4 separate regions of the Homo sapiens genome follow, and regions 1, 2 and 3 are each linked to region 4. The links are contacts of gene promoters, found by promoter capture Hi-C in human tissues and cell types (Jung and others, 2019). All regions are on one chromosome and are shown on one strand. Each heading gives the region's core, a stretch centred on a gene start or on the middle of the fragment in contact. The rest is flanking DNA. Distances are from core to core; before and after follow the strand shown.

Region 1 (5,226 bases), core at 1-2,500, 890 kb after region 4:
CTCTTCCCTAAATTCCACACTCGCACTCTCTCTCAGTTCATTTACCCCCTGACTCAGACAGAGGGGATTGAGGTATTTCAGAAGAGGCTTTGTATTTGACAGCTCTTTCTCCCTCTCTCCTTTTTATTTTTATAGCTCCAAATGAGAAGATGAAGCAAGTGTTAAAGAAGACTATAGAAGAAGCCAAAGCAATAATATCTAAGGTTGGCTTTTTTAAATGATGCACTAAAACTTGTTGGGTTTTTTTTTTTTTTTTTGGAGATGGAATTTTGCTTTTGTTGCCCAGGCTGGAGTGCAATGGTGCGATCTCGGCTCACCACAACCTCCACCTCCTGGGTTCAAGCAATTCTCCTGCCTCAGCCTCCCGAGTAGCTGGGATTACAGGCATGCACCACCATGCCGAGCTAATTTTGTATTTTTAGTAGAGACGGGGTTTCTCCATGTTGGTCAGGCTGGTCTCGAACTCCTGACCTCAGGTGATCCGCCTGTCTTGGCCTCCCAAAGTGCTGGGATTACAGGCATGAGCCACCGCGCCCGGCCTAAAACTTGTCTTTTGAGATAAAACTCCAACTCTGGCTTCCAGAGTTGCCTCTCAGCCAGCCTTCTCTTTCAGCCTTCCGGAGGCAAAGGAAACAAGCGTATTTGGGGTAGGCTGTAGCTTTTCCTTTCATAATCCTGACGGTTGCCCAGAGGCCTCTCCGTTCCTCCAGGCAGACACAAATTTTTGTTGGCTTATGTAAATATAGGTTCACGTATAATACAAATATGTATAATACAAATGTTGATTTCATTTCTTTTACCTTTTTGAAGAACTTAACAAAGTTAAGTAGGGGAGATTTGAATATTGTGGCCATCGAGTAGCTCTCCAGACACTTGATTGACTTAATATGTATTTGATATAAATGGTTTTTTGTAATTGTCTTCAGCATTTTATACAAAGGCTAGTTTATAGAGGGAGGAGCGTAAATTTATACCATTGATATACAGATAATGTGTATCTGGAGGAAGAGAATTTAAGGCTATTGAAAGAAGTGGTATCTGTATCTGTTGCTTGTATTTGTGTGTTGGTGATATTAGTTGCTACCGCTCTCAACTGCAAGTCTCTTGACTGATCACCACTTTTTCTTCTGCTTCTCCTGGTTTGCTCAGCAGAACTGTTATTTTTAAACCAATATTTCTCAAACTTACCAAGCTTTTGACTAATCTTTGAAGAGCCTCAGCAAAGGCTGCCCTGAAGCTCTGTGCCTGTTAATATAGGAAAGGCTTTATGAAGCTCTACAGGAGAGGCCCTGGTTGAGCCCGTCGTTTGCGTGGTGATGGCATCTAGGCATGTGAGCACGTCTCAGGCCATGGCAAGAAAACAGTGGTCTGGCTGTTGTTCTGCACCCTTCTCCCCACACTTTGCTGTGGAACTCCTCTCTCGGTCGCCTCACTTCTCCCCTTTGCCTGTGTACTTCTGAAAGTACTTTTTATCCTTGGTCTTCTTCCTCTCTCAGTATCTTATCTACTCTGCCAAATGCAAATTCCACCCTCTGCAGATAACTCTGAAGCTTCCATCCTTTCCCCCTGACATCTTGCTTCACTTCCAACCTGAATTTCCAGCTGGTTGTGAGATGGTTCTATCTGAACACCCAGTCAGCACTTTGAAGTCCAGTTTTCTAGAAATGAGCTCTTTGCTTCCTCACTCCTCTCCCTCTCTGTTCTGTCCCTGAGAATCAGCACCTCCTATGAGCTTCTCTGTTTCCAGTAACAGAACCACAGTGTCTTGGTTTTATAGGGCAAATCCTCAGTGTCATCTTCAACACTTCTCCCTTCTGTCACCTCTAGGTTTGAAGTGGGGTTCTGTACCGTCTGCTCCCATGATGCCTCTTAAGTCCACCTCTTCCTTTCACTTCCACAGCTGTGGCTTTCTTTAAGGCTCTCCTGTAGCCTTTTGCATTCTGATGCCCACTGGGGGTCCTGCCAGTCAATTCAATTCCGTTCTGACACTAACTACTCAGAGACAGCACAGACCCCACAGGTCAAGGGCAGATCCTTCAATTCTGACACTAACTGCCTGGAGTTAGCATCAGACCTAAAAGTTAAAGGGTGAGATCACCAACAAGACTCCTCTTATTTCAGACACCAGCTGCACGTGAGGTCCCCAGGCCACCCATACTTGTGTCCAGCTTGACTACAAATTTGGAGCTTCCCACAACGCCCCCACTGATGTGTGTCACCCGGCACATCAACGTCTTCACCAATCAGGAAGCTTCACTGAGCCATGATGTCTGGGATTTTTATAGCGTTTTTGTTCAGTAGGCATGATGGCTTAAACCACTGGCCACGTGTTTGATCCCAACCTCTAGCGCCTGGAGGTGGAGGAAGGGAGTGAGGCCGAAAGCTCCAACCCTCTAATTATGTGCTTGGTCTCCCAGGCACGGCCAGCCCCTTCCTTGAAACCCAGCGCGGACTACAGGTTACTGTATTAGCACAAGCTCAGGTATGGTGAGAAGGGGCTCGTTATAAATAACAAGACACTCCTGTCACTCAGGAAATTCCAAGAGTTTTGGAGCTCTGTGCCTGGAACTGAGTAGCAAAGACCAGATATATTTGTTATTTCATCACACCTTCCTCTGTACTCTTCAGAGCCTGCTACCTGGTCTCCCTCCAACTAGGTCTGTTCTTTTTTTTGAGGCAGAGTCTTATTCTGTTGCCCAAGCTGGAGTGCAGTGGCACGATTTTGGCTTACTCCAACCTCTGCCTCCCAGGCTCAAGCAATTGTCCTGCCTCAGCCTGCTGAGTAGCTGGGACTACAGGCACCTGCCACCACGCCCAGCTAATTTTTGTATTTTTAGTAGAGACAGGGCTTTGCCATGTTGGCCAGGCTGGTCTCGAACTGCTGACCTCAGGTGATTTGCCCACCTCGGCCTCCCAAAGTGCTGGGATTACATAAGGTGTGAGCCACCACATCTGGCCAACTAGGTCTGTTCTATATCAGCTACAAGATAAATCTCTCAACATTACCACTCCTTCCCAGAAAAGGCAGTCGCTTCCCGTGGCCTAACAGAGGAAAGGTGAACTCTTCAGCCTGGCTTTTGTGGCCATTCAAAAACAAACTTCAGCTGATCCAGCTAGAGCTGGCCTCATCTTCTCTCCTTCCTGCCCCATGCTGAGGGGGCTGGCGCCTGCTTTTCTTTGTTTCAGCTTGTCCTGAAGCACCTGCTGCCATCTGTACCTTTTCAGCCCATCTGCATTTCGAGGCCCACCTGCGGTGCCTGCTCCCCCTGCCGTATCTCCCGATCCTCACTGCCATCTGTGCTGCCAGCATTGGGCTCTTTCTCCTTTGAGAATTCTTTGCACTTCATTGTACTCCATGCTCAGTGCTGCTCACCGTCTGCTTTATAATACAGGCCACGGTGTGCTTCGCTCAGCCCCTGAAATAGATGGTAGTCACTCTGGGAGCAAGAACTGTTTGATTTCTTTTTGTTGCTCTGGCAGTATCTGGCAAGGGTCTTGTACAAGATCTTGATCGAATTTATGGAAGTGATTAGCCACACTGTAGATAACGATGGCTTTCTGCTTGCAGAAACAAGTGGAAGCCGGTGTCTGTGTTACCATGGAGATGGTGAAAGATGCCTTGGACCAGCTTCGAGGCGCGGTGATGATTGTTTACCCCATGGGGTTGCCACCGTATGATCCCATCCGCATGGAGTTTGAAAATAAGGAAGACTTGTCGGGAACACAGGTACGTAGTTTGTGAGTGGGTACTCTGGAGGTTGAGTTCCTGGCCCCCAAAGCCCTTAAGATTTGATGCCCCTCTTCTGGATGTAGTGTTTTGCTCCCTACACAGCTTTCAGGTTTGCTATGCCCTGCTTCAGAGCAGAGTTCTGAATTCAGGAGCAGCCCCTGAGAGTGGGTACTCATGAGTGAGGGGTTTGGCCCCACACACAGGAGGCAGTGGACGCAGTTTGTGAGGCCGCTCATCAGGAGTGACTGCAAACATTTCCACTGTCTTTGGCTGCTAGGAAGCCAGCTACCTAATTTCTTCCTATTTCTACCCAAATGCGTCAGTCCCTTTGCATGGAAATTTGTGTTTCTAGTCTTACCTGTTGCTTCATGTTATTTTCTGACCCTCATGTTCCATTTTCCTTGGGTTTTCTCACTTCTTATCCTATTGGACAATATTCTTTGTCTAAGCCATGTTAAATAAATGAAATATGCAGAAGTAAACAGGCAGCCCCTTTATACCTCGATTTAAACACCCAGCACGATGCCAGTGCCCTTCCCTGGCAGTGGCCTACAGATCTGTCTAAGACGAACTATATGGATCAAGGTGCAAATGAGATAGGATCTCCCTGTTGTCCAGAGGAGGAAGTTAACTGAGTCAGGGCATGAGTGGAAACTTAACAGGGAAGGTACTAAAGTCAGCAAGGACTTAGAGTGAGGTGCGGGAGTCAGGCCTCCCATGGTGAGCACGGGGAGAAATCTGTCCCCTGCCCCCTGCTGGGAGGGGCTCAGCTGGGCTCTGCCCCCTGGGTGGGAACACACAGTCAAGCCATTCTTACGACTGGCCCCAGGCAGGGCTCAACGTCATTAAAGAGGCAGAGGCGCAGCTGTGGTGGGCAGCCAAGGAGCTGAGAAGAACGAAGAAGCTTTCAGACTACGTGGGGAAGAATGAAAAAACCAAAATTATCGCCAAGATTCAGCAAGTAAGTACTTTTTGCTTTAATGTGTCAGTAGTTTTTGTTATTTCCCTTCAAACTGATAAAAATGTACAGTGAATCCGAAAGATTTAAACTACTGGTACAAATATTTTAATCTTATTGGCTCGGGTTTAAACTAAAAATATCCTCTTCCTGCACACCAACAAAAACTGGAAGAAAATATGGATTGAGTACCAATATCTAGAGTTTGTTTTAATATGTGGGGGAGAGGAAATATACTATGTTAATTTCAAGCGTAAAAATAGGGCTGCAAGTAAACAGATATGTTCCTTGAAATGTAAAATTTCGCCCGTCACTGATTTCAGGCTTTTTCAAACTGCTGATGCTGTGTACAGGAGGGGGAGGAGGAAAGGTTCGAGACCTTTGAAGGACATCGTGTAGCGCTGTAACCTGAGGGGCCGCCTTGGTTTTGTGGGTGCTCCTACGTCACTAGGCTGTGATTTTGGGGAAATGGGGCCCTCCACCTTATGTAGATCCAGAGTCCGTGGCTCTGAGCATCCTCCCTTTCCCACTGGACCTG
Region 2 (7,113 bases), core at 2,205-4,704, 540 kb after region 4:
GTAAGTTAACCAGCCGACGGGGGAGGATGGAGAAAAGTCCCCTCCTGGTCCCTCGGCATAAAGGGAGGCCCAGGGGATGGAGGCAGAGGGGACAGTCCCCAGGCCCTGGCCCTGATTTTCAGGTGGCCACTGGTCAGAACTGTCAGCTGTGCCTGTCCCCCAGACTGCAAATTGAAAACAGCAAATGTAGCTCTATTCTTTTTTATTTTCCTCCCCCCTCCATCTCTGCCCCTTTTCTCTTGTTTCTTTCTTTCTTTTCTTTTTTTTTGTCAATGAGGAATACAAGGCCACTGCCAAAAACATATCCCACACAATCAAACATCAGATGGTGACTCCTTTCCCACAGCTTGTGTGAGTGAAAACAGTGAAATTATACCCATGTTTTCGCGGCGAAGCCCCTGGTGTTCCAGCAGAGGCAAGCCTGGCGCTGGCTCTTGTTCGCCGGCTTTTTGTTCCTGCGCTCGCGGTGTTTTTAGCGCTGGACGCCATTCAGCCGGCATTCAGCATTGTATGTCGCTTCACATATGGTTCATCCGCTCCAAATGTGTGCATGTACCCAGAAAATGCAGCTTTTCATTATGTATTCTCTATGTAACAGAAAAGATTAAGATATAAGCCTGGTGAATGTGGCAGGAATTAGTTGGACAGATGAATAAGGGAAAAATGAATCTGGAATGATGGTGGATTTGGTCTAATGATTGTGGGAGGGCGTTAAGAACTTGCTGGTAGGTTTCAGCCCTTTTAATCCCAGGCTGTGTGTGTATTTTGGCAGGAGAAATGCTCCTTCAGAACTCGATCTTGAAGGGTACAGTAAAAGACAGACGCACGCACACACAGACGCCCACAAACCTTCAGCCTGAGGCGGAGACTTCCATAAGTCTGGGTCCCTGCCCCCTGTGTCTTCAAACTTTCTGAGCGGCTTGGGAGGATTCCATATTTCCAACTTCAGCTCTTAAAATACAAGAAAATAAAAGTGGGACGCCTTCAAGCCATTAATGATGCCTTCCTTTTGCATTTCATTTTATTTTATTCATCTGGACTTATATAAAGGATCCAAGCTAAGAAGGGAGGACTCTCTCAAACAAACTTGAATTGGGACAGTCGACAAAAGTTAAAATGCTTTTAGATGCTTTTGACGTGAGCACCCAAATTAGAGAGAAAAAAAAAGGGAGGGGGGTGTTCATTTATAACGCATAAACTCAGCACCCTTTAAGACTAAAACTATAGTTAGTTAAAAATGCTAGTTGACACGGTTGAGTTTTCAATCCGCAGTTGCAAAAGGTGTATGTGTTTGATAACATTTGTTTTGTGGCTTAATAGGAAGTCAGAACAGAGAAAATTTAAGATTTAGGCTTACGTGCTTCCTACAACGGTTTCCAGAGAAAGATTTTTTTTTCTAGCCAATTTTGATTGAAAATCGAGATTTGCATCACAATGGAGATAGCTCAAAAGTGTAAATACAAAAGGCTGCAACTTCAGAGACTTCTTGGTCAGATGTGTTGTTTTCTGGTATATCATCTCATAAGGGCTTTGGGAAGGGGCTTCTCTCAGATTCAGGCCAGAGGGGGCTATGTTCCCCGTTCATTGCGAAAGGTCACACAGCCAACTCCTTCTGTCAACTCATATAGAACTATTTAATGCGGGGGAAGGGAGTTAGCAATGCTTCTGCTTTTGAGGAAACTGTTTACATAATTTAATTCACAGATATTTATGGTGGGCTGAAAGGGAGCATATTAGACTATCCAATTAATTCACATCAAAAATAAGCCTTTCAGAGATTAACAAAATCAGACAAAATCTACATCCTTGTGTTGTTGCAAATTATAAACATTTTGATATTCCCTCACATAATTGTGGTCCAAAAATTAGACAAATTCCTTTATTGGAGTCCACATTTGCATATCACCATACCAATGAGCAGTAGTAGTATCAATGTTTTTCCTCTTTCAATTGAAACGAATTTGTTTGAATTTTTATTTGTAATGTGATCAATATTTCAGTGATTTAGCTGTCAGGTTCATGTTGTTCTCACAGAAATGTTAAAAGCTTAAAAGTTTCTTTTCCATAACTCGAAATGCAAGGTTATTCTAATTTTTTCCACATTCCTACAATCTTCTCATCCTGTGTGACGACTGTGGAACAGATCAAATTGAGAGCTGCAAAATGTCCTATATCCACTAACATGTTTCTTTTTTCTTTTTACACTCCAGGTTCTATTTTTCTCAGCCTATTCCGGGATCTGGACACATGAGAGAACAAAACATATGACATCAACTAAAACATCACTCGATTTTCACACCAGTTTTTATACAAGTTGATGTCTTTTGATAACCCTTTAGGATGAAAAGTGCTGACCTGTGTCCCGTCTTCGGACTTTATGTCAAAATGTAGTAGCTGGGTGCGTTGGCTCACCCTTGTAATCCCAGCACTTTGGGAGGCCAAGATGGTTGGATCATGAGGTCAGGAGTTCCAGACCAGCCTGGACAAGATAGTGAAACCCCATCTCTGCTAAAAATACAAAAATTAGCCGGGTGCAGTGGCGGGTGCCTGTAATCCCAGCTACCCGGGAGGCTGAGGCAGGAGAATTGCTTCAACCCAGGAGGCAGAGGTTGCAGTGAGCCGAGATTGCGCCACTGCACTCCAGCCTGGGCAACAGAACAAGACTCCAACTCCCCCCCAAAAAAAAAAAAAAAAAAAAAAGTTAGTTAAATGGAGCCATTTCCCTCCCTGGCTGTTTTATTAATATAATCCCTGGGTAACAGATAATTGTTGGTATATCTCTGCCTTAGGTTGTTACCATTCTTGTACAAGTTGGACTGAACCTAGCAAGGCTGCTATCTCTGCGTCCCAATTTAGTCATTTGTTGCCACACAGTTTCTGTGTTTTCTTTCCTCTCCTGTTCCTTGCAAGTGGCACAGTGAGGCATAAAATTTTTCCTTTAGCCTAGATAATCTGGCGTAATTTTCCTCAATGCTTTCCCTTTCCACAATGGGAGTCAGGTTTCCATTTGAAACAGTTTACTTCTACATAATAAGCCTTCTCTCTCTCTCTAACTCTCTTATTCTCTTTTTTTCAATCCCAGAAAATTTCATTGCAGTTTAGAATCTCAATAAACAGGCTGCTGTTGCCATAAACAATCAGGGGAAAAAAAGTGGTGTTGGCAGAAAATTTAGATCATAATTTGTCTGACGGGACAAAACAGGCATGCCCTCTGCTTTGTCTTTGTGTATATTTGGGGTTATTATCAGTGTTCTGGCTTCTAAAGCATCTTTCTGTGTTAAATACGGGGCTGGACCGTGGAAAATCAAAAAACAAACTGGCATTTGGAAGGGCAATAACTTTCCTCGAAGAAAGGAGACAGCTACCGTTGGCCTATTATTTCAAACTTACTTCTGGTTCTCCACATCTTCCAAGGTAACAAATGAAGATGGTCACCCACCTTCAGTCTCGCAGCAGCAAGAAAGCAACAGAAGCCTTCTCTCCAGGAATTAGTATAGGAAACCTGTTTGCTTTTAAAGTTCCGAGTCCTCCCATAGAGATGAAAGGGGAATTAAAGTGAGTTACCCCTGAGGAATCACCAAAGGAAAAACGGGTTGCTTTATCTGGGCTCTTCAGAACTCTTTAAGACTTGAAGATCTGGATTGAAATCCGTATAATACGTTCATTCACTAAGTCAAGATTAATAGCGTTGGTGTTGTGTCCTCCGGGGAGGGCCTCCAGAAGGCATTTGGAAATAAAGGTTGTCTTACTTTGAAATGCTTCCTCCACAGCACAGAAAAATTGATTTTTCCCCCAGTAAATATTCTTTTGGCATCTGATTTAAAGTCACTAAATGCTTTCCTCGCTAAAGATACCTTTCTCTGTCATCTCTTTCCGTCTCAAATATTGCCGGCTCTCACTGCTTTCTCCCTTCCCTGGCATAACTCTGGTTACAAATAGCCACTAGTGAGTGATATTTTGCTCTCACTTCTTAGCCATCCTATATTTCAAGGTTATCCCATTCTTTAACACTGCCCTTCAGGGTTTTGATAACAATCCTTGAAATCGCTGTATTTAGGACCAGAAATCCTCTAAGCTTGCTTTTCTTCTTAAACATGTTTTAAAATAAAAGTGGAGGGAAATCATTCTGAATTAAAATAGATTTCATATTAAGTTAGTAGCAAAAATGTGGTTTTATTTGCTTTCTGCTTTTTGCCCTGGAAAATGGGATACAGTAAAAATAAAACAGAACCCAAAGCACGATTAAATGAAGCAGGTGGCTCTCTGCAGGTAGTAAAGCAAAGAAGCAACTTGCTTTGGAAAGTTACATTCTGAAATGTACATGACTGTTGGGCAAGCTATGAAGCCTGCTGCATACTTTCAGAAGGACCCCTTCTGCAGGAACCTTCCAAATACAGTTTCAGAATTTTTTTTTCCTTTCACAATCTTTCATTCTTTCTTTGCATCTGGTTATGGTCCATTTTTAGTGGTTACTTTTTGCACGTTGGGAAGATTTTACTTTTCAAAGGCCTAAAACTGATGGCAATGCCTGTTGGCTCATTCTAAACCACCCAGACTGCGACCAGGGTTTCAGTCTGGGTTGTGCATGGGGCGATAAATCCTGGCGAAGCAGCCCTAATCCTCTACAAACCCCTGCTGCAAATTCTGTCCCTGCCATTGTGTTTTCTAACCAACTTGGGGGAATACCATATTGATCCTAAAAATGGGCAGCTTCTTAGCTTGCAAGTGGCTCCCTTTAAGAAGCACAGAGAACACGGCCTCAGGAAGCAGGGATTGCATCTCAGGGCAAAAGAAAGGGATGAGGTAAGACCCCGCAGAGGAATGCTGCCTGATGTGTGTGCTGGTTATTGTGAGTTGGTTCAGTGTTTCTGTCAGCTGTTTTACTGGTGTCTGATTAATCCCGCTGGTCACCAGGGGTAAGCCAGGGTTTCATCTGATCTAAGAACAAAACTTTTCCTCTTTTGGACAGAAGGTGGTCTGTCCAGGTCAGGGTATGGGTCACTGGAAGGGCAGCCTTCGGAAGCCTGCGTTTCACAGCAACCACTTGTTACAATTAGTTTAAAAAAAAAAAAAAAAAAAAGCCAACATGCGGTGAATTGACACTTTTGTGGGTCCCTGAGTCTGGACGGTGCAATTGTTCTGGAAAACAATGTCAGGATCTTCATTTGAAAGTGGAGAGGGTACAATGGTATTTCAAGTAGCAAAATCCCCACGCTCTGAGCCATGTGGGGATTTCATTTCCTTCAGTGTCTAGAACCCTATTCCCCTTCTCTGTACCAAATCCAAGTGTATTAAATGAAAATGCACAAATGAAGAAGGGTTAAGTTGAGCAAGACGGCATCTGTGCATGCTGTCCTAGCCTGCTCCTCAACCGGGCTGACAAATCATTTGCAGAATTGAAATTAGGAAAAGGTCCCTTGACTCTTGGGACAGAGTGCCCTTGGACTCTGGCAGAGTCTAGACAGTAACCCCCCTCTGCCCGCCCCACCCAATGTCAATTCTGTTCTGCTTCCTTTGCAGTAGAGGCCCCAGTTTATACCTGGGCACAGGTCCACGTGGAATAACAACACTGCATTTTGCAGTATTGCTTCCAGCTAAGTGTGTCCTTGAGACTAAGTCCTAGCCAAAGGCTGAAGGTAGAAGTGGTATACAACTTCCAGAAAGCATACTGTAAGGGAAGGGACATTCCCTTCTTTGCTCTCCTTTCTTCCTGCTGACTGGAATGCAGACGTGATGGCTGGACCTCTGGTGCTATAAGAAGCTGTGCTAAGGAGGTAGAGCAGCCCCTCAGGACCTATGGAGCAGAGCCATCCCACCAACCCTGGGCACATGAGACAGAAATAAACTTGGGTCATTTTCAAGCCACTTTTATTTGAGGCCTTGCTTTCAGACAGATGAACCTAATTCTAACAAAGGCAGATGCTAAAGAGATTCTCACTTAATCCTGCCTAGTCCGGATGAAAGTTCTAAAATATTTGTTTCTAGAGACTCCACTGGAAAAGCCAAGTGAGAAGATGTCACCAGTCCCACGTGACAAGCTGGCCTGGCCCTGCCCCAGAGGAGGGTGGTGACAAGGATCAGTAAGCTCTTGTGAGCAAAGCTGCGTCTGCAGGAAGCCAAACCACCCAGTCATGCTGTCCTTTCATGCTAATTGCTGTTTGATGCAAAGCCACTCAAACAAGTCTAGGGACATTTATCAGATAGACAAGGAAAACTAATTCTCCACTAATTTTTTTTTATTTTCAACTGATTTTTGTAGCTTTGTGTGGACTCTTCACCTGGTTAAACAGGCCCCAGAGATAGAGAAGGAGAAATATTTCAGCTGCATTGGGACAAAAATAAATAAATAATAACAAAGGCTAGAGGATCTCAAAACTAAATGCCAAATGGGGAATTATTTGAGCTTAAATAATTTTCTTTTGCAAAACGAAAATTTAGGAGTTTTGCTTTCAATTTTATGTTTTCTAATACAATTAAAGCAAGGCCTGGACTGGTGTAGAGAAATGTGTAGAAAACACTGAATAAATGGGAGCTTCAAGTCTCTGTAAGTCCTAGCTGTTAATGTCCAGCAGAGGTGGCAGGGAGCACACTGATGCCACCCCCTGTGAGGTCATCTAGATGTTACCCAAAAGGAGTTCTGATCCAGACCCCAAGAGAGGGTTCTTGGATCTCACGCAAGAAAGAATTCAGGGTGAATCCATAGAATAAAGTGAAAGCAAGTTTATTAAGAAAGTAAAGGAATAAAGAATGCCTCCTCCACAGACAGAGCAGCTCCAAGGGCTGCTGGTTGCCCATTTTTATGGTTATTTCTTGATGATATGATGAACAAGAGGTGGATTATTCATGCCTTCCCTTTTTAGACCATAAGGGTAACTTCCTAACATTTCCATGGCATTTGCAAACTGCCATGGCACTGGTGGGAGTGTAGCAGTGAGGACGACTAGAGGTCACTTTTGTCAGCTTCTTTATTACAACCTGTTTGGTTTGGGTCAGCTTCTTTATTACAACCTGTTTTATCAGCAAGGTATTTATGACCTGTATCTTATGCCAACCTCTTATCTCATCCTGTGACTTAGAATGCGTTAAACATCTAGGAATGCAGCCCAGTAGGTC
Region 3 (6,645 bases), core at 2,698-5,197, 860 kb after region 4:
AGCTCACTGCAACCTCTGCCTCCCAGGTTCAAGCAATTCTCCTTCCTCAGCCTCCTGAGTAGCTGGGATTATAGGCGCGCACCACCATGCCCAGCTAATTTTTTGTATTTTTAGTAGAGACAGGTTTCATTATGTTGGCCAGGCTGGTCTGGAACTCCTGACCTCAGGTGATCCACCTGCCTCAGCCTTACAAAGTGCAGGGATTATAGGCTTGAGCCACCGCGCCCAGCCTCACATTACTCAGTTTATTCAACAAAGGAGAGCTTACATTAAAAGTCAGCTGTGCCGGGCATGGTGGCTCACGCCTGTAATCCTGACACTTTGGGAGGCTAAGGTGGGCAGATTGCCTGCACTCAGGAGTTTGTGACCAGCCTGGGCAACATAGTGAAACCCCATCTGTACTAAAATACAAAAAATTAGCTAGACCTGGTGGCACACGCCTGTAGTCCCAGCTACTCAAGAGGCTGAGGCACAAGAATCACTTGAACCCGGGAGGTGGAGGTTGCAGTGAGCCAAAATCGTGCCATTGCACTCCAGCCTGGGTGACAGCACAAGACTTGGTCTCCAAAAAAAAAAAAAAGAGGGGGTGGGCAAAGAACTCTCAAAATTTATTTTTCCAAGTAGAAGACAGAAAGATGGAGTCTTCGTCTTAGGAATAAAATATGCTAATAGAATTAATTTTATCTATAAAATTGAATTTCCATAGTAACATTAATTTTAGAAAACACACTTAAAAGAACAATGAAACCACATCATCATCATAGATGGGTGTTAGAATTTTATTTATATAGATTTAGCATAAGTTATAAGTATGGATTTCTTAAGTTCATGCTGAAATGTGATAGAACTGGGCATGAACAAATTTGTTAATTCTGTACAATTCTCCTTCTTACCATTTCAAAACTTGCATGAATGAAATAAGCTCTTTGATTTTGAGGGATTTAAAAATGGATTTAATTAGAAAGGATTTATTTAGAAAGAAGTTTTTAAAGACTGTAGGTGTTTCATGTTATTTAAACCACCGGAGTAACAAACTACACAAAGCTACTTTTTAGTTTCTAAATTTACATGCTTGCCCCTAAAAGGGAAGAATAATTGAGACAGGAAGAATAGGGGGTATTAAGAGTAAATATAAACTGATTTTTCAGTGCTCCCTTTCTTTTGCAGGTAAAAACAAATGGAATCTCTGATGGCAAAAGAGAATCACCATTAAAGATTGACCCATTTGAAGATCTGTCATTTAATCTGCTTGCTGTATCAAAGGCTCAGCTATCTGTTCAAACGTCACCTGTTCCCACCCCAGACCCAAAGAGGTTGATTCAGTTGCCTTCTGCAACGCAAAGTAATGTTTTGAGTTCTGTAAGTTGCATGCCAACAATGCCTCCAATTCCAGCTCGGAGTCAATCCCAGGAAAATATGCGAAGTTCTCCAAACCCATTTATTACTGGCTTGACCAGGACAAATCCTTTCAGTGACAGGACTGCTGCTCCTGGAAACCCATTTAGAGCCAAGTCTGAAGAATCAGAGGCAACTTCATGGTTCTCCAAAGAAGAGCCCGTTACTATCAGTCCTTTCCCTTCTCTGCAGCCTCTTGGTCATAACAAAAGCAGGGCTTCATCTTCACTTGATGGCTTTAAGGACAGTTTTGATCTACAGGGCCAGTCTACATTAAAAATTAGCAACCCGAAAGGATGGGTAACCTTCGAGGAAGAAGAGGATTTTGGTGTGAAAGGGAAGTCAAAGTCAGCTTGTTCAGACTTACTGGGTAATCAGCCAAGTTCATTTTCTGGCTCCAACCTGACATTGAATGATGACTGGAATAAAGGTACAAATGTCTCCTTCTGTGTGTTGCCGTCAAGAAGACCTCCTCCACCTCCTGTCCCTCTGCTCCCGCCCGGCACCAGCCCTCCAGTAGATCCTTTCACGACCTTGGCCTCTAAGGCTTCACCCACACTGGACTTTACAGAAAGATAACGCCATGCAATAGAAAACAGTGGGTACTTGCTTTTGGCAGGATAGAGCTAAGAGAATTGGGCATTAGTATTTCATTATGTGCAATAAGTCATTGTAAGTGCACTGATATCTTCACAAAACACCACTATTTGATGTGTACAGAGTTGGACTATGTGTATATTGGAAATAAGGAAAAACCCTTCTCATTGTTAACTGGAGTTTTGATGTATTTCTCTTTGGATGAATAGGAGACAGTAGTAGCCATAAAAAGTACTTATACTTTAGAAAACAGTCCTTATTCAGAAACTTTTCGGTCAGTCTTCTGAAGAATCTCAAAAAGCCCACCCAACTTTCAGCTGACATTTCCACCAGCCCTCTCATACTTGTTAACAATTGGTATCTTTGAGTATTTACCAAAGAGCTGCCAAGGTTACAGTGAACAGAGTTTTGAAAGGCATTGCTTTAAAGGAAAAAAGTATAGGTATGTGTACATATATAATACATACAAACACATGTACTTCTGTATACATTTACATATTTTTACAATTCATACTTTAATTTCTAGGCTATAACTCAGACCAAATTATACCTAAAAGTTCCAACAAAGTCCCTTTTTCAATATCACATTACCAAAAAGATGGCTGCAAATGTAATTTGGACCTTTCATTAATTTTGTTTTCAAAACTAGAATAATCTCACCACAGAATCAGAATTTTCTACCGTTCCACACCCAACCCCTTCAAATACACACAACCTTGTTACTTTTCACTCCAGCACCTTCATACGCTTTTCTCCAGGAGGAGGTTCTTGCAGCTGGAAACAGCCTATTTTGTGGTCACTGTCAAGTGGATGGATATTCTAGCGCTCCCAAAAAAGCACTATGGCCTTATATGCAGGGAAGGCACATACCACCAAGTTCAATGAGAAATATTAGAGCTAACCGTACTCTCTTCTCTGCGTACGTTCGAGTATACGTTGCCCATATCCCTCCCATATTTTCTTTTTGCTGCTTTTGCTCTGGAACTTTGCTTTTAGCAGGGAAAGCAGCTGTCCCCTGAGTGCTTTGAATTGGGAATATACCCAGTGTGTGTTCTCCCCCCTCTTACGAGGCTACATAACACATCTATGATGCTGCTTTAAGTTTTTAGAGGCTATACCTCAAAGTAGCTGCGGATTTTGTCTCCTGCACTGCCAATATGCAACTGATCCCGCTTTTATTAATTTTTTGAAGAAGTACACAGAATTTTTACAGAATGTAGTATTTTGATATCATTAAGTAAACCAATCAGAAAACTCCTTGAGCAATAGTTGTTTCTTTGTCAGTTTCAGTTACAATCATCTTTACCCATTAAGACTTACATTAACATTCCTTTTATATAAAGAGTTGTATATGTCCACCTAAATTCCTATGTCCACACTTAACCTTTAAAGATGTACATTGAGGGAATATCAAAAAATAGCGTTCATGGCTACGAATATGTAGAATGTTAAAAGCACAGCAAACTGCACTGCACTTATAAAGCAAATCTATTAGAAAAAAAGCATTTTTCTAAATGCTCAAATGTTATCAAAATACTATATTTATAGAAGTAATCTTCTCTGTTAACAGCCAAGATTTGCTGTTAGAAATAACTCTTGTGAGTTTTATATTGTGCTTTTTGGAGGTTCTAATCATTTCAGCAGTAGCGTCTTAAACAGCAGTATTACTATAAGCAGTTGCTTCAAAATGTGAATTAACTTGTTGAAACTGTGGCTTTAACATCCATGTGACTAGTGTATATGGTATTTGCTCTCCATTAGCAAAATAATTCATTGTTAGGTAAACTTCACTAGTGCAAATTGCAGATCTGTGAGCAATGTTTCCTATTGAATATAAACTACTGTCTAAAATATACATATCAGCAGCCCAGCCTTTATCAGGAAAATTATACTTGGCAAGTTGCTGAAAATGCACAAAGTTATGAAAGTTAAAGGTATGCTGCAAATAACTAGCCATTATTCTATGTATTATTAAATATTTACTAGTTCTGTTAAAAGCAGAGCAGAAGTTAGACACTAAGGATCTCTTTGTGAACTCTGTGTTCTCTATATTAGATTGCTGTTTATATGTAAGAATTTTATTGCTTATGTGGCATACAATATTTATAACTATAAACTTTATAGAAGTACAGTATTAAAGTCAGTGGTACACAGACATTCTGTACATATCCTGTGAAACGTGCTGTCATATGAAATAAATATATCTGTCTTTACCATGCTGACTTCTTTGTTAGAAAGGGAAGAATTTTTCTCAGCCATTTTCCTTGTACTTTACATACACAAGTTTGGTGACGTTCAAACAAAATAAGCTTAACCCTTATTGCCGAATCAGATATTTTAATTCAAGACCTTATTTTCATTTCTCCAGATAGTGCTTCCTCTAAAACTAAGAAGATTTTCCGAGATTACTAATCATTATTAAAAAGTCCATGCCCAGCCTGGCCCACATGGTGAAACCCCATCTCTACTAAAAATATGAAAAAAAAATTAGTTGGGCGTGGTGGTGCAGGCCTGTAATCCCAGCTACTGGGGAGGCTGAGGCAGGAGAATCACTAGAACCTGGGAGGGAGAGGTTGCAGTGAGCCGAGATTGTGCCATTGCACTCCAGCCTGGGCGAGAAGAGCGAAACTCTGTTTCAAAAAAAAAAAAAAGTCCATGCACTTATTCCATAAGAGAGGCCCTCACGCAAAAACATGCTGACTTGAAAATAATACAAGAAATATGAATGATTTTTCTTACCCAAAGTAGAAGGAACAAGTGGGGGGCAAAGAGGAATTGGGACAAAAATAGCCAATCAGAAAAAGGGACTGCCTAAAGAGACCCAAATTAAAAGGCCAGGGCCGGGCGTGGTGGCTCACGCCTGTAATCCCAGCGCTTTGGGAGGCCGAGATGGGTGGATCATGAGGTCAGGAGTTCGAGACCAGCCTGACCAACATGGTGAAACCCTGTCTCTACTAAAAATACAAAAATTAGACGGGCGTGGTGGCAGGCGTCTGTAATCCCAACTACTCAGGAGGCTGAGGCAGGAGAATAGCTTGAATTTGGGAGGCAGAGGTTGCAGTGAGCCGAGATCACGCCATTGCACTTCATCCTGGGGGACAGAGCAAGACTGTCTCAAAAAAAAGAAAAAGAGGCCAAGGCTAGGCAAGGTGCAATGGCTCATGCCTATACTCCCAGCATTTTGGGAGGCTAAGGCAGGAGGATTGATTGAGCCCAGGAGTTCGACACTAGCCTGGACAACATAGACTTTATCTCTGGTAAAAATCAAAAAAATTAGCTGGGCATGGTGGTGCGTCCCTGTAGTCCCAGCTACTCAGAAGTTTGAGGTGGGGCATCACTTGAGCCCAGGAGATCGAGGCTGCAGTGAGTGAGCTATGATCACACAACCACACTCCAGCCTGGGCATCGGACCAAGACCCTATCTCACCAAAAAAAAAAAAAAAAAAAAAAAAGCCAAGGCTAGTATTGCCTTTTTTCAGACCTGTCTGATTGATATTTGAAATTCTTACTTTAATTCTTAATGTTCATTAACCTTTTATTAAGAAGTTACAGAATTATTGGCTTACAAAAACCATTTTAAGATACTTGTAGGTTAATATGGAGTTATAAGAAATAATACAGAGACCCCGTGTACCCCTTTACCCACTTGCCCCCATGGGTAACAGCTTGCAAAACTACAGTACCAGAGCATGACCGAGACATGAACAATACAGAGCATTTCCATCACCATAAGGAGCCCTCATGTTGCCCTTTTCCCACTGCCCTTTCATCCCATCTCCTTTTCCCCTGCCCTTAACCTCTGGCAACCACTAATCTGATCTCCGCATGTATAATTTTCTCACTTCAAGAATGTTACATAAATTGAATCATGGTATGTAACCTTTTGGGGTTGGCTTTTTTCACTCAGCATAATTCTCTGGAGATTCATCTAGTTTGCATGTACTCTGTTCCTTTTTATTGCTGAATAGTATTCCATGGTATGGATGTACCACCGTTTATTTAACCATTCATCCACTGAAGGACACTTGGGTTGTTTCCAGTTTGGTGGCTATTACAAATAAAGCTGCTATGAAGATAAGTTTTCATGTCTCTGGGATAAATGCCCAGGAGTGCAATTGCTTGGTTATGTGGTAATGGCATGCTTCAGTTTTTTAAAAACTGAAACTCTTCCGGAGTGCCTACCCTTTTACATTCCCATCAGCAATGCATGAGTAATCCAGCTTCTCCACATCCTTTTCCTCATTTGGTGGTGTCACTATTTTTTATTTTAGCCATTATAGTAGTGGATGTTTCATTGTAGTTTCAATTTGCATTTCCCTAACAGCTAATGATAAAAATCTTTTGTTTTTGTTTTGTTTTCTGAGACAGAGTCTTGCTCTGTCAACCAGGCTGGAGTACAGTGGCACAATCTTGGTTCACTGCAACCTCCGCCTCCAGGGTTCCGACGATTCTCCTGCCTCAGTCTCCCAAGTAGTGGAGCTTATAGGCGCCTGCCACCATGCCCAGCTAACTTTTTGTGTTTTTAATAGAGATGGGTTTCACCATTTTGGCCAGGCTGGTCTCGAACTCCTGACCTTAGGTGATCCACCCACCTCGGCCTCCCAAAGTGTTGGGATTATAGGCGTGAGCTACTGTGCCCAGCCTGAAGATCTT
Region 4 (6,572 bases), core at 2,233-4,732:
GAGACAGGGTCTCACCTATCACCCAGGCGGGAATAACAGTGGCACGATTATAGCTCACTGAAGCCTCAAACTCCTGGGCTCAAGCGATCCTCCTACCTCCTGAGTAGCTGAGACCACAGGTATGTGCCACGGCACTGGTCTATAGCATGGAATCTTTCATAATTTATTTCTCTCTCTGTAATTTGACTTTATTCTTCCTATTATGAACAGTGGTTCAAAATGAAAATCTTGGGACACTCCCCCGTCTACCCGAAGATTTTCAGAGGTAATCAAGATTCCAAAGTTTGTGTGGGCTAGGTGCAGTGGCTCACACCTGTAATCCCAGCACTTTGGGAGCCCTAGGTGGATCATTTGAGGTCAGGGGTTCGAGACCAGCCTGACCAACAAGGCAGAACCCTGTCTCTACTAAAAATACAAAATTAGCTGGGTGTGGTGGTGCGCGCCTGTAATCCCAGCTACTCGCGAGGCTGGGGCAGGAGAATTGCTTGAACCTGGGAGGTGGAGGTTGCAGTGAGCTGAGATCGTGCCACTGCATTCCAGCCTGGGCGACAGAGCAAGACTCCGTCTCAAAAAAAAAAAAAAAAAGTTTGTGTGAATCATTCTTAGGCTGAATATAACCTTTAAAACATTTTTTAAATTAATTAATGTATCGTTTGGTTGCAATCTCTGAGGATGAGTATGGCCTTTTTTTTTTTTTTTTTTTTGAGACGGAGTCTTGCACTGTTGCCCAGGCTGGATTGCAGTGGCGCGATCTCGGCTCACTGCAAGCTCTGCTTCTGGGTTCATGCCATTCTCCTGCCTCAGCCTCCAGAGTACCTGGGACTACAGTTGCCCGGTGCCATGCCTGGCTAATTTTTTGTGCTTTTAGTAGAGACAGGGTTTCACTGTGTTAGCCAGGATGGTCTCGATCTCCTGACCTCGTGATCTGCCCACCTCGGCCTCCCAAAGTGCTGGGATTACAGGCGTGAGCCACCGTGCCCAGCCAGAGTATGGCCTTTTATATGGTCAATTTATTGAGAACATTCTGTCATTTCTATCTTGTTTTATGTATTTTTATAATTTTAATGGATTGAAGGGGAAAATTCTTATTTTTTTACTAATGAAATTTTCCCCTGTACCTAGAGAAGGGACTTGCTTTGTGGGCTGAATACACTGATAAACCACTGGTATTGGGAAGGAGGATGGACAGTCCCCGCCCCTTCCCCAGCCTTCGCTGGGCACTCAGTTGAAGATTTCAAAAGGTCCTTGAGCAGCTGGGGAAGCAAGGCTAACTTCAACATTTCTGTTTTCTGCGTGAAGTGTTGACACTTGGAGTGTATTTTAATTTTACTTTTTTTTTAAATAAATAGAGATGGGGTCTCCCTATGTTGCCCAGGTTGGTTCAAATCCCTAGGCTCAAGTGATCCTCCCACCTGGGCCTCCCAGAGGGCTGGGATTACAGGCATGAGCCACTGTGCCTGGCCTTGGAGTGCATTTAGAAGCAAGGCTGGGAGAAGGATGAGATTGAGAGATATAAGGCACCTTACTGGGCCTGGAAGCAGAAGAGGGGGATGGCTACTGGCAACTTTTAGGAAGTTTTGCTTGGTGGCTTTTTTTTTTTTTGAGACAGTGTCTCGCACTGTCACCTGGGCTGGAGTGCAGTGGCGCAATCTCAGCTCACTGCAACCTCCACCTCCAGGGTTCAAACGATTCTCCTGCCTCAGCCTCCCGAGTAGCTGGGATTACAGGCATGCGCCACCACGCCCATCTAATTTTTTGTATTTTTAGAGAGATGGGGGTTTTCCGTGTTGGTCAGGCTGGTCTCAAACTCCCGACCTCAGGTTATCCACCTGCCTCAGCCTCCCAAAGTGCTGAGATTACAGGCGTGAGCACTGCGTCTGGCCTTATTTTTCTTTTTAAAAATTTTTTAGTGGCCAGGTCTTTTTTTTTTTAGACGGAGTCTGGCTCTGTCGCCCAGGCTGGAGTGCAGTGGCACGATCTAGGCTCACTGCAAGCTCCGCCTCCCGGGTTCACGCCATTCTCCTGCCTCAGACTCCCGAGCAGGTGGGACTACAGGCGCCCGCCACCACACCTGGCTAATTTTTTGTATTTTTAGTAGAGACGGGGTTTCACCGTGTTAGCCAGGATGGTCTCGATCTCCTGACCTCGTGATCCGCCCGCCTCGGCCTCCCAAAGTGCTGGGATTACAGGCGTGAGCACCGCGCCCGGCCAGAAATCCTATTTTCTTTCACATGAGTTATTTTGTTGATTGTTTGCTTATAACTAAAGCCCTCAGAATCAGAGTTTATACTGTATCTTTTTCTGTGTTCCTACATAGATGGCAATAAATGATTCTAATGTTTATGATGTAGAAGCTGAGGAGGCTAATACCTATTTCTGGCTCCTTTTAGGAGACACAGTCATAACAAAAAATATTGCTTAATGTGCGAGGCACAGTGCCAAGTGGTTTACATACATTGTGTAATTCTCCCCCTAAAAAAGTCAATGAAGTTGATACAATTATTATTTCATTATATGTAAAATAGGGAAAATAACAGCATTTATCTCAGAGGGCTGTTGTAAAGATTAAATGAATGCCTGTAATCCCAGCACTTTGAAAGGCCGAGGCAGGCAGATCACCTTAGCTCAGGGGTTCGAGACCAGCCTGGCCAACATGGTGAAACCTGGTCTCCACTAAAAATACAAAAAAATTAGCTGGGCATGGTGGTGCGCGCCTGTAATTCCAGCTACTCGGGAGGCTGAGGCAGGAGAATAGCTTAAACCCGGGAGGTGGAGGTTGCAGCGAGCCGAGATCGCGCCACCACACTCCAGCCTGGGCGACAGAGCGAGACTCTGTCTCAAAAAAAAAAAAAAAAAAGTAAATGAGAATATACATAAAGCACTTAGCACAATGGCATACTATTTACTATAGTTTACTATTTATTGCAACTCTCATTTTGCAGGTATCTTGCCTAAGGTGCAAGCAGAAGAAACAGGATTTTCAACCCAGATCTGAAAACTCCCAAGCCTCTGCCTTTTTCTTTTTATCCTTTTTCTTTTTCCTTGTTAAAAAACTTGCTTCCTGTACAGAGAGGGGAAATGCTCAGTCCCCACGTCAGTGGTTGAACTCCAAGCCAGAAGATCCCTATTTTGATTTTGTCCTCTGGCCTGTCGCCAGCCCCTCAACAGTACTTGAATTAATAAAAGGGCAGGTTTTAAGCCTCATGTATCTGCGCAGGTGACTCCTTCTGTGACCCCGAATAAACCTGTTCCGGTCCCGTTCCGGGGAAACAGCCTTGCCTTCCCCTGCCCCCAGAAAGTTACCCTCGCCCTCCGAGCCACAACTCCCCACGCCGCCAACTCGGTCTTTACATCATTTTCGACGCCCCCTAAGTCCCTCCCGAGAGGCGCAGGCGCACATCGCCCCTTCTAGCGAACTACATCTCCCACAATCCCAATCGGCCGGACCACCTCCGCTCGGGGCGGGGACGGAGGTGGAGCTGGTGGTCCCCGGTCGGGACGAAGGCTCCCGAGGTGCCCTGCCTGGGTCCTCCGGGGTAAAGTTCGTTTGGCGGAAGATTGTCCGTTTTCCTGGTAAGGTCACCTGTCCCAATCAGGTACGATTCTGCCTTCCGTACCCCCGAGCCCCTCAGTGTAAAGTGGCAAATGGTCTAGCCCGGCGGAGGCACCAGCTGGAGGCGGTGGGAGGGACACCCGCAGTGAAGGGCGGACCGCGCACGCATGCGCAGAGGCGCGGCAGGGGGGCGGGAGCCGCGGAACCCCTACCCCAGGTCTGCGCAGGTGAGGAGGGGGCGGGGCAGGACCGACCTCCCTTGCCATGATAACCACCTTCGCAGCCGGCTCCCAGACCGTTGGCACCGATTGCCTAGAAAATAGGGGGTCTCAGGAGCTCCGTTTTAGCGTTTATATATCCCAATTCCAATTAAGCCACTTCCAGTATTTTTTGGCCATTGTCAGTGTACAAGTCTTCCTCCTCTTCGAGACCATGTTATTGCAATAGCAGCAAACGTGTTGGGAGGCCTCACAATTCATCATGGTTTTTCTGGCCTCTGGCAGATAGCTCCTTCCTAGCGAGCTGTGGAGCTTAAAGTCTTTTGGACACTTGATTCTATTCAATCCAGTATCAGACCAGGTACGTACCTTGTCCATAAGTCGTCTTATGAGAAGACTTCTTGAGATGATGCAGACTCTCGTGCAGTTTATAATCGGCTGGAGGTATAGACAGTTAAGCAAGCCTCCTTTTTTACTGTGCCCACCCCTAACCATTTTGCTTACACCTTGTTATGGGACTTGGTTAAATTGCTTAACCTTCCGGACCTACGTTTTCTCATTAAATGAGAAGATTGGATTAGATGATCTCTAAGAACTTTCCACTTGTAAAATATACGGTTAGTTAGTGAGGGGTAGAATCCAGATTCTATCTATCTATATTTTTTTGAGACAGAGTCTCACTCTGTTGCCCAGGCTGGAGTGCAGTGGCACGATCTCGGTTCACTGCAACCTCCACCTCCCGGGTTCAAGCGATTCTCTTGCCTCAGCCTCCCGAGTAGCTGGGACTGCAACCTCCAGTTAATTTTTGTATTTTTAGTAGAGACAGGGTTTTGCCATGTTAGCCAGGCTGATCTCGAACTCCTGACCTCAGGTGATCCACCCACCTCGGCCTCCTAAAGTACTGGGATTACAGGCGTGTGCCACCGTGCCTGGCCCCACAATATGTTAACACTAAACTTCATCAGCTTCCACTTTTCTGCCCACATCAGTGAAATATAGCTATAAGAATGCAGCTGGTGGGGCTGGGTGCGGTGGCTCACGCCTGTAATCCCAGCACTTTGGGAGGTCGAGGCGGGCAGATCACAGGGTCAGGAGATCGAGACCATCCTGGCTAACACGGTGAAACGCCGTCTCTACTAAAAATACAAAAATTAGCCAGGAGTGGTGTCGTGCACCTGTAATCCCAGCTACTTGGGAGGCTGAGGCAGGAGAATCGCTTGAACCCGGGAGGCAGAGGTTGCAGTGAGCCGAGATCATGCCATTGCACTCCAGCCTGGGTGAGACTCTGTCTCAAAAAAAAAAAAAAGAAAAGAAAAGAAAAGAAAAAAGAATGTGGCTGGGCACAGTGGCTCACCCCTATAATCCCAGCACTTTGGGAGGCAGAAACTGGCAGATCGTTTGAGCTCAGGAGTTGGAGACCAGGGTGGGCAACATGACGAAACCCCATCCCTACAAAAATACAGAAATTAGCCAGGTGTGGTGGTGCACGCCTGTAGTCCTAGCAACATGAGAGGCAGAGGTGGGAGGATCACTTCAGCCCAGGAGGTTGATGCTGCAGTGAGCCACGATTGTGCCACTGCACTCCAGCATGGGCAACAGAGCAAGACCCTGTCTCAGACAAAAAAAAAAAAAAAAAAGGCTGAGCGCAGTGGCTCATACCTGTAATCCCAGCACTTTGGGAGGCCGAGGCGGGCAGATAACCATGTCAGGATATCCAGACCAGCCTGGGCGATATGGTGAAACCCCTTCTCTACTAAAAATACAAAAAAATTAGCTAGGCGTGGCTCTGGAGGTGGAGGCACCACTGCACTCCAGCCTGGGTGACAGAGCGAGACTCTGTCTCAAAAAAAAAAAAAAAAGGAAAAAGTTGACAGCAGCATTCAAAAGAACTGCCCCTTGTTGTACTTATAAATTCATGCTGTATCTTTTACCTTATTGCTGAAAATAAGAAATTAACTGATAATACAACTTTGTTCAACCTATATTTGTTGTCGTTTTATAGGTCATTGCTAGGAAGAACTCTGGGTACAATAATGAATACAATGTATGTGATGATGGCTCAGATCTTAAGATCTCACCTGATAAAGGCTACAGTGATTCCTAATCGAGTGAAAATGCTTCCATATTTTGGTATCATTAGAAATAGAATGATGTCAACCCATAAATCCAAAAAGAAGATCAGAGAATATTATAGACTGCTGAACGTGGAGGAAGGATGCTCTGCAGATGAAGTCAGGGAATCTTTTCATAAGCTTGCCAAGCAATATCATCCTGACAGTGGCTCTAATACTGCTGATTCTGCAACATTTATAAGGATTGAAAAAGCTTATAGAAAGGTGCTCTCCCATGTGATAGAACAAACAAATGCCAGTCAGAGTAAAGGTGAAGAAGAAGAAGATGTAGAAAAATTCAAATATAAAACACCCCAACACCGACATTATTTAAGTTTTGAAGGTATTGGTTTTGGGACTCCAACTCAACGAGAGAAGCATTATAGGCAATTTAGGGCAGACCGTGCTGCTGAACAAGTGATGGAATATCAAAAGCAGAAACTACAAAGCCAGTATTTTCCTGATAGTGTAATTGTTAAAAATATAAGACAGAGCAAACAGCAAAAGATAACGCAAGCTATAGAACGTTTAGTGGAGGACCTCATTCAAGAATCCATGGCAAAAGGAGACTTTGACAATCTCAGTGGGAAAGGAAAACCTCTGAAAAAGTTTTCTGACTGTTCTTACATTGATCCCATGACTCACAACCTGAACCGAATACTGATCGATAATGGATACCAACCAGAATGG

The links. Contacts are between HindIII fragments. The study calls those that stand out against the background at their distance.
Region 1: a fragment that was not itself captured here is called in contact with the fragment with the promoter of DNAJC28 in region 4 in 1 of the 25 tissues and cell types used here (dorsolateral prefrontal cortex).
Region 2: a contact is called between a fragment that was not itself captured here and the fragment with the promoter of DNAJC28 in region 4, in 2 of the 25 tissues and cell types used here (dorsolateral prefrontal cortex and spleen).
Region 3: a fragment that was not itself captured here is called in contact with the fragment with the promoter of DNAJC28 in region 4 in 1 of the 25 tissues and cell types used here (lymphoblastoid cells).

Annotation. Positions count from the first base shown.
Region 1 is chr21:32,602,626-32,607,851 of GRCh38, reverse strand. CFAP298-TCP10L (CFAP298-TCP10L readthrough) reads left to right here. Exons shown (of 12, transcript NR_146639.2): 3 at 136-203; 4 at 3,569-3,727; 5 at 4,560-4,691. It overlaps CFAP298 (cilia and flagella associated protein 298), which reads left to right. Exons shown (of 7, transcript NM_021254.4): 3 at 136-203; 4 at 3,569-3,727; 5 at 4,560-4,691. Among named protein-coding and RNA genes, the nearest start is that of CFAP298, 7.1 kb to the left of the region's middle. RefSeq lists a silencer at 3,079-3,373. The HindIII fragment of the contact is 4,387 bases long and covers 1-3,443 here.
Region 2 is chr21:32,948,860-32,955,972 of GRCh38, reverse strand. No RefSeq gene overlaps it. Among named protein-coding and RNA genes, the nearest start is that of LINC01690, 6.5 kb to the left of the region's middle. The HindIII fragment of the contact is 5,013 bases long and covers 948-5,960 here.
Region 3 is chr21:32,626,324-32,632,968 of GRCh38, reverse strand. It overlaps SYNJ1 (synaptojanin 1), which reads left to right. Exons shown (of 33, transcript NM_203446.3): 33 at 1,168-4,206. Among named protein-coding and RNA genes, the nearest start is that of CFAP298-TCP10L, 17 kb to the right of the region's middle. The HindIII fragment of the contact is 9,547 bases long and covers 1-6,645 here.
Region 4 is chr21:33,488,626-33,495,197 of GRCh38, reverse strand. DNAJC28 (DnaJ heat shock protein family (Hsp40) member C28) reads left to right here and starts at 3,482. Exons shown (of 2, transcript NM_001040192.3): 1 at 3,482-3,596; 2 at 5,774-6,572. The coding sequence starts at 5,805. The HindIII fragment of the contact is 10,582 bases long and covers 1-6,572 here.